2 separate regions of the Homo sapiens genome follow, and region 1 is linked to region 2. The links are contacts of gene promoters, found by promoter capture Hi-C in blood cells and fetal thymus (Javierre and others, 2016). All regions are on one chromosome and are shown on one strand. The core of a region is centred on a gene start or on the middle of the fragment in contact, and the rest is flanking DNA. Distances in the headings are between cores, read along the strand shown. Region 1 holds the start of LOC105372571 (a long non-coding RNA gene). Region 2 holds the start of CSTL1 (cystatin like 1).

What was found. Contacts are between HindIII fragments. The CHiCAGO score rates a contact against its expected background, and 5 or more counts as called.
Region 1: a fragment that was not itself captured here is called in contact with the fragment with the promoter of CSTL1 in region 2 in 6 of 17 cell types (activated CD4 T cells, naive CD4 T cells, total B cells and 3 more); the score reaches 7.3 in activated CD4 T cells.

What each region holds. Positions count from the first base shown.
Region 1 is chr20:23,333,205-23,336,813 of GRCh38, forward strand. All of the region lies in intron 1 of NXT1-AS1 (NXT1 antisense RNA 1), which reads right to left. LOC105372571 (a long non-coding RNA gene) reads right to left here and starts at 2,663. Exons shown (of 3, transcript XR_937379.3): 1 at 1-2,663. The HindIII fragment of the contact is 7,152 bases long and covers 1-3,609 here.
Region 2 is chr20:23,437,796-23,441,398 of GRCh38, forward strand. It overlaps CSTL1 (cystatin like 1), which reads left to right and starts at 1,890. Exons shown (of 4, transcript NM_138283.1): 1 at 1,890-2,011; 2 at 2,349-2,691. The coding sequence starts at 2,473. The HindIII fragment of the contact is 9,312 bases long and covers 1-3,603 here.

The sequences.
Region 1 (3,609 bases), core at 205-2,704, 110 kb before region 2:
GTCCATTTTTCTTGTCCTATTTTCTCTGCTAAATGAGCCCCCAAAACTCGTTCCAGAGAAGTGAATAAAATGCATGACTCAGGATTCCCATCTCATTTATCTCCTGCCTCATGGAACCAGAAGCCCCTTTTGTCCTCCATCAATCCCTGTTTAAATAATATTCCCACCTGCAATAAACTCTTTCTTCAGTCTCCACCAAAGGGCCAGCCCGTTGCATGCACCAACCTTCACTGAGGGGTTCGGGGTCTGAGAAGTGACTGGCTTTGCCCTTCTATGCATGCTTGCTTTATTACTTAAGGTTATGACTTAATGCTACTTAATGAAAACCCTGGCTGGCGGGTCTGCAGAGCAATGCTTCAGAAAGGGCTCTGGATAGATAATCACCATTTGCCAGAGCCCCTCAGCATTCCCAGTGCCTCCTTTCTTTCTTTTTTTTTTTTTTTTTGAGATAGAGTGTCACTGTCGCCCAGGCTGGAGTGCAGTGGCATGATCATGGTTCACTGCAACCTCCACCTCCCAGATTCCAGCAATTTTCCTGCCTCAGCCTCCCAAGTAGATGGAATTACAGGTGTGCACCACCACGTCTGGCTAATTTTTGTATTTTTAGTAGAGATGGGGTTTCACCACGTTGGCCAAGCTGGTCTCAAACTCCTGACCTCAGGTGATCCACCCACCTTGGCCTCCCAAAGTGCTGGAATTATGGGCATGAGCCACTGTGCCTGGCTGGCCTTCTTTCCCTTCCCTGTTTGCTTTCCCACTCCCTACTGGTGCTCCCGAGCATCACCTGCAAAATGATCAAGGAGTTCATTCTTAGGTCAGGGAATCCATTCTGAGGTCAGGAAGTCCATTCTGAGTTCAGAAAGTTCATTCTGAGGTCAGAGAGTTCATTCCTAGGTCAGGGAGTCCATTCTTAGGTCGGGGAATCCATTCTGAGGTCAGGGAGTTCATTCTGAGTTCAGAGAGTTCATTCTGAGTTCAGAGAGTTCATTCTGAGGTCAGAGAGTCCATTCTGAGGTCAGGGAGTCCATTCTGAGGTCAGGGAGTTCATTCTGAGGTCGGGGAGTTCATTCTGAGGTCAAGGGTCCATTCTGATGGCAGAAAGTTCATTCTTAAGTAAAGAAGTTCATTCTGAGGTCAGGCAGTTCATTCCTAGGTCAGGAAGTTCCTGTTTAGGTTGGGGAGTCTATTATTAGGTCAGGGGATTCATGCTTGGGTCAGGAAGTTTATTCTTAGGTTGAAGAGTCTATTCTTAGGTTAGGGAATCCATTATTGCTTCGGGAGTTCATTCTCAGGTTGGAGGTTCATTCTTAGGTGGGGGATTTATTCTTAGGTCAGGGGGTCCATTCTGAGGTCAGAGAGTCTATTCTGAGGTCAGGGAATCCATTCTGAGGTCAGAAAGTTCATTCTTAGGCCCAGGAATTCATTCTGAGGTCAGAGAGTTTATTCTAATGTTGGGGAGTCCATCCTGAGGTGGGGGGGGGTCCTATTCTTAGGTCAGGGGGTCCATTCTGAGATCAGGAAGCTCTAACCTAAAACAGTCTTTAGCTGGAATCCCAGTGTGGCCACTTAGTAGCTGAGTGGTCTTGAGTAAGTCAGGACCTCCAGGTCCACATGATGATCCCACCAGGTAGGCTCATTCCCTGGGCAAATCTCACTACTCAGCACCTGCTCTGTAGCAGAGATCCTGAGAGTGCCCATGTGTGGTGGGTGCTCAGTGTCCTCTTCAGATTCTGCTCCAAGGCCAGGGTACCCCTTCCACACTGGTGGCTGAGCGCCTTCTGCATCCTCACCAAACCCCCCGCTGGTCTAATGAGCAGCCTATGGAAGGGACACGGGGAACCCTTGCTTCAACTCTGCAGGTTTCCAAAGCTCCAAGCTCCCCAGGGGCCAGTGGAGGCCTCTGTTGCAGCAGCATCAAAGCCCCACTGCTCTCTTACCCTTCCCAGGTGGGACTCCCAAGATCCCCTCCCCAACGAACCCCTACATGCAAATCTCCATCTCAGGGTCTGTTTCTAGGGGACTCAACCTGAGACGTACTTCATAATGTTGCTGCAATCATCTAGGACAGAATAATCATAAATAGCAAAGCTCTGAAAAATGTTAAAACGTAAGTAGTAGCAGTAGTAGCAGCAGCAGCAGCAGCAGCAGCAGCAGCAGTAGTAGTAGCAGCAGTAGTAGTAGTAGTATTTTGTTATTGTCAACATTCTCATCATGAGGGTCTTATGGCCTGGACTCTGGCCTGTGGGTCTCAACCCTCCCATGGCCTCCTGCAACCATCTCTCCCCTACCCCTCCATAGCACATAGCCTTATAGATTAAAATGTTCCTAATGGCCCCCAAACTGGTTGTGGCTCCCCCAGTGCTTGGGGGATTTCAGAGGGGCTGGGTAACAGTTTGGCTTCTGCAGCCATTTCTGAATTTCACTTTTGGTTTGTTCATGCTGTGCTGATGCTTCAAGAGTTGACCACAAAGTAGCCACCAGTCACCAAAGTGGCACAGGCTGGCCTGAGGGTCATGAGCCGACCCACTGGGCCATGAGTAACAGAGGCAAGCTGGCTACTTGGCTTCCCCTCACATTTCAAACCCGTTAAGCCAGGCAGGGGTGTGGGCACGCTGAAAGAACGTTCTTGTTCTCAATCTCTTTTAACTGGTGATGCCAAGAAGAAACTTAAAAAAAAAAAAAAAACTGACCAGGCGCAGTGGCTCAAGCCTGTAATCCCAGCACTTTGGGAGGCTGAGGCGGGTGGATCACTTGAGGTCAGGAGTTCGAGACCAGCCTGGCCAACATGGTGAAACCCCGTCTCTACTAAAAATACAAAAATTACCTGGGCATGGTGGCAGGCGCCTGTACTCCCAGCTACTCAGGAGGCTGAGGCAGGAGAATCACTTGAACCCGGGAGGTGGAGGTTGCAGTGAGCCGAGATCATGCCACTGCACTCCAGCCTGGGCGACAAGAAAAAGACTCTGTCATAAATAAACAAATATATAAATAAATTAATAAAATAAAATAAAATAAAATAAAACTGAGTTGGGCCAATGTGCAGCTTGAGGCAGTATTTCTCTGAGCCCTTTGTTCTCTAAGGATAAATCTTCCGAAGAGCGGCCCTCACATGGGTGGTCCAGATGAGGCAGAAGAATAGGGTCTGGAGGCAGGGAACCTAAGGCCATTTCAAGCTGACTTCCTAGTACTAAATTCAAAGTAAAGCCCTAACTTTCCACACCTTAGTAACAAAAAGATCAGAAATCACTCCCTTTGCAAACCCTCACCTTTTCTGTGCAGCAGATGCGAAACTGAAAATACCTCTGATTGGTTGCTTTGTGCAACCAATCAGATGTTGCATAGGAGCGTAACTTTGTAACTTCACTTCAGCCTCTGATTGGTTGCAGAAAGCAGGCCGCCACTTCATTTACACCGGGTGAACACCAAGTGGCCAATGGGAAACCTCTAAGGGGCATTTGGACTCTGTAGATTCTATATCCTGGACCTTGAGCTGCTGCTCCACCCATTCCCACACTGTGGAGTGTACTTTCATTTTCAATAAATATCTGTTTTTGCTCTTTCATTGCTTCATTCTTTCCTTGCTTTGCTGTGCATTTTATCTAATTCTTT
Region 2 (3,603 bases), core at 640-3,139:
TGATCTCAGCTCACTGCAGCCTCGACCTCTCTTGGGCTCAGGTGATCCTCCCACCTCAGCCTCCAGAGTAGCTGGGACTACAGATGTGGGCCACCATGTCTGGCTAATTTTTGTATTTTCTGTGGAAACGGGGTTTCACCATGTTGCCCAGGCTGGTCTGGAACTCCTGGGCTGAAGCAATCCTCCTAGCCTCAGCCTCCCAGGTGTCAGCCACTATGCTCTGCCCCTATTCCATGCTGTAACCAAGCTCCCTGTCTCCCTTTATACATGTACCTTACCAGAATCATATTTTTTTCCTGATTCCATGTCCACAGAGTCAGAAATCAGCATTTTGCTGACACAAGCTAAGGAACGCCAGTGTGACCTGTTAGGCGCCTCACATCTCTTTCTGTGGCATAGTCAGGGTCTATGTTTTCCTTTTCTTCAATTAAAATTGCCAGTGACTCATTTTCCTCTTTATGGACACAACCAACTCCCATATTTCTTAAGCAGATTTATTGTTTATGCTTTGAGCCCCACATCCATGGGGTTTCTAATATGGCCCACCCAATGTTATTTTTCCTCTCTATGGGCCTCAGCCTGATGGGGGTATCCCAGGTGTCTGGGGCATGCTGAGACGGCACAGGTCTGTGTGGCTTCCCGGATTACTCGGAATCCTTCATTATCTATTCTACAGCAAGTGGCCCTCGGCAGCTCAGGCTCAGGGAATTTCAAATGTATCACCTCCACCGGCTGGACAAGTCCTCTCAAGACAGGCTCTGGGGCCAAGGGAGGATGTTGTGACTGGTGCTAGCAACATTGTCATGATGGAAGGTGGCCTGGCTTCCGGGACATGACAGGCCATGGGTGAAGTGTGGGTTCAGAGTCACAGAAGAATCACGAAGAAGACATTCTTATGCACCTGACACCTGACTTGGGAGCAGGTTCTTTGCCTACATCCAGTTAGTCTCTACCACAATTCAAGTGGAGTCTTTCTCCCCATTCTCATATTACAGGTGAAGAAACCCAGCTTAGGGAGATGAGGTAACTCTCCCAGAGTCCCCAGCGAAGGACTTGAGCCAGGACAGTTGGATCCTAAGTCTCCTGCTTCCCCTCCCTCAGCACGCTACTCCTCACAGAACAACGCTTTATTTAGTTTTGGACATTTTAACCTTTATTTTGGAATAATTTCAGACTTACACAAAGGCTGCAAAAATAGCATAAAGCATTCTCGTATACCCTTCATTCCACTTCCCCAAATGTTAACATATTATACAATCACAGTACAACGGTGAAAACTAGAATATCAACATTCACACAATACTATTAACTAATCTGCAGATTTTATTCACATTTCATCAACTATTCCACTAATGTTTTTTTCTGGTAGGATTCCATTTAAGGTGTTTTTTTTTGTTTGTTTTTTGTTTTTTTTCTGAGACACAGTCTCGCTCTGTCACCTAGGCTGGAGTGCAGCGGCACCCTCCCGGCTCACTTCAGCCTCCACCTCCTGGGTTCAAGTGATTCTCCTGCCTCAGCCTCCCAAGTAACTGGGACTACAGGTACACACCACCACACCCAGCTAATTTTGTATTTTTAGTAGAGATGGGGTTTCACCATGTTGGCCAGGCTGGTCTCGAACTCCTGATCTCTGGTGATTCACCCACCTCAGCCTCCCAAAGTGCTGGGATTACAGGCGTGAGCCACCGCGCCCAGCCAGCAAATGTTTTTAAAATAGGGCATTCATGGGCTTTTGGGGGTAAGTGACACCTAATCTTCAGGGGTCTGCGGATAATTTCTAAATGGGGCTCACAGTTTATTCCTCCCTCATAGGGAGGCTGCAATTACCTCACAAAGCTCCACTAGGGTCACAACAAGATAGCAAAAGCCAGTGCAGGGCCTGCAGGTATAGGGGGATCCTGCAAGCAGAAATCTGTGGTGGGCGGGCGGCAGGTGAGCAAGGAGAACGTGTCTGTAAAGGAAGCACAGGGAACAGGTGGTGGCTTTGTAAGACAGTTGGAACCCAAGGAAGGTAAGAATAATGTACCACTCCTTGCTCCATATGACTGCTTCCTTATATCTCAGTTCAGATATTACCTTCTCCGTAAGGCCGCCTCCCTTCCTGTAAGTGATGCTTCTCTATCTACAACCCCAGCTCTTATTGCAGAGCACTGTAGGGGCTGTTCTGGGGCTTTTCTTCCCTGAGACATGTGAAGGCAGGGAGAGGGGCTTGCACGCCTTAGCAGGTGTTTAAAAATTTTGCTTGCCTGGATCACCAAAGAACTGAATGGGTGGTGTAAATGGGTAGAAAATGAACTGGCTGGAAACTGAGTGACAAGGTTCAGGTCTGAATCTCTGTTTAAATGCAGGCAGGCCATCCCCCAGGAAAGCCTATGTTGGTGAGGGTTATGATGGGAGAATGAGTGAACTGCAGCCTGGCACCACCACACCCTGGAAGGTGCAGTTGGGAAGAAAGTTTCTGAGGCTGTAGACATGGGGATCGGATGCTGGAGAAACCCCCTGCTGCTGCTGATTGCCCTGGTCCTGTCAGCCAAGCTGGGTCACTTCCAAAGGTGGGAGGGCTTCCAGCAGAAGCTCATGAGCAAGAAGAACATGAATTCAACACTCAACTTCTTCATTCAATCCTACAACAATGCCAGCAACGACACCTACTTATATCGAGTCCAGAGGCTAATTCGAAGTCAGATGCAGGTTTGTACCTTGCTCTCCCAAGACATCAGCAGGCCCTGTTCTTGCCAGTTCAGACATGTGAGGATTCTGGGGTAGCTCCCAAGAGAACCAAGTGGTGGTCCTCCGTGAGGTCCCAAGGGGGAAGCATCTTCACTTGTAGCAGGTACATTGTAGAGTTGTTCAGATCCCAGAATGTCCTTAGCCATGCTTCCAAAATGCTTTCCTAAGGACTGGCATGAACTCTAACTCCAATACACTTAGAGGCAAAAGTGTTCACTGAGGATTAAACTCTTTTTTTTTTTTTTTTTGAGATGGAGTTTCGCTCTTGTTGCCCACGCTGGAGTGCAATGGCATGATCTTGGCTCACTGCAACCTCCTCCTCCCAGGTTCAAGTGATTCTCCTGCCTCAGCCTCCCAAGTAGCTGAGATTACAGGTACGTACCACCACACCTGGCTAAATTTTTTGTATTTTTAGTAGAAACCGGTTTTCACCATGTTAGCCAAGCTGGTCTCGAACTCCTGACCTCAGGTGATCTGCCCACCTCGGCCTCCCAAAGTGCCGGAGTTACAGGCGTGAGATACCACGCCCGGCCAGCTCTTTTTCCTTGGGAAGAAATGCCTTTCATTCTGATATTTGACCCTGCCGGAGTGACAGCAAGGATAATTTTGCTCCCTTTAAAGTTCTCATTTGGCAAAATACAAATATTCTCTGTAGGCCTGTAGCCCCCAATATTTTTTCAATGTGTAGGGTTGTAAAATTCAAAACTGGGTGTTCTGTGTTATACAAACTTCAAATTATACAGAGGGTTTATTCTGGAAGTGGAGAGGATGTGAGAGATAGGGTTCAGCCAGATCACCTCACCTTCTGTTTTACATATAAAATTTCTCTGAAATATATCAATTGAAGGATAATAGAAGAAAGAAAAGTTGTTA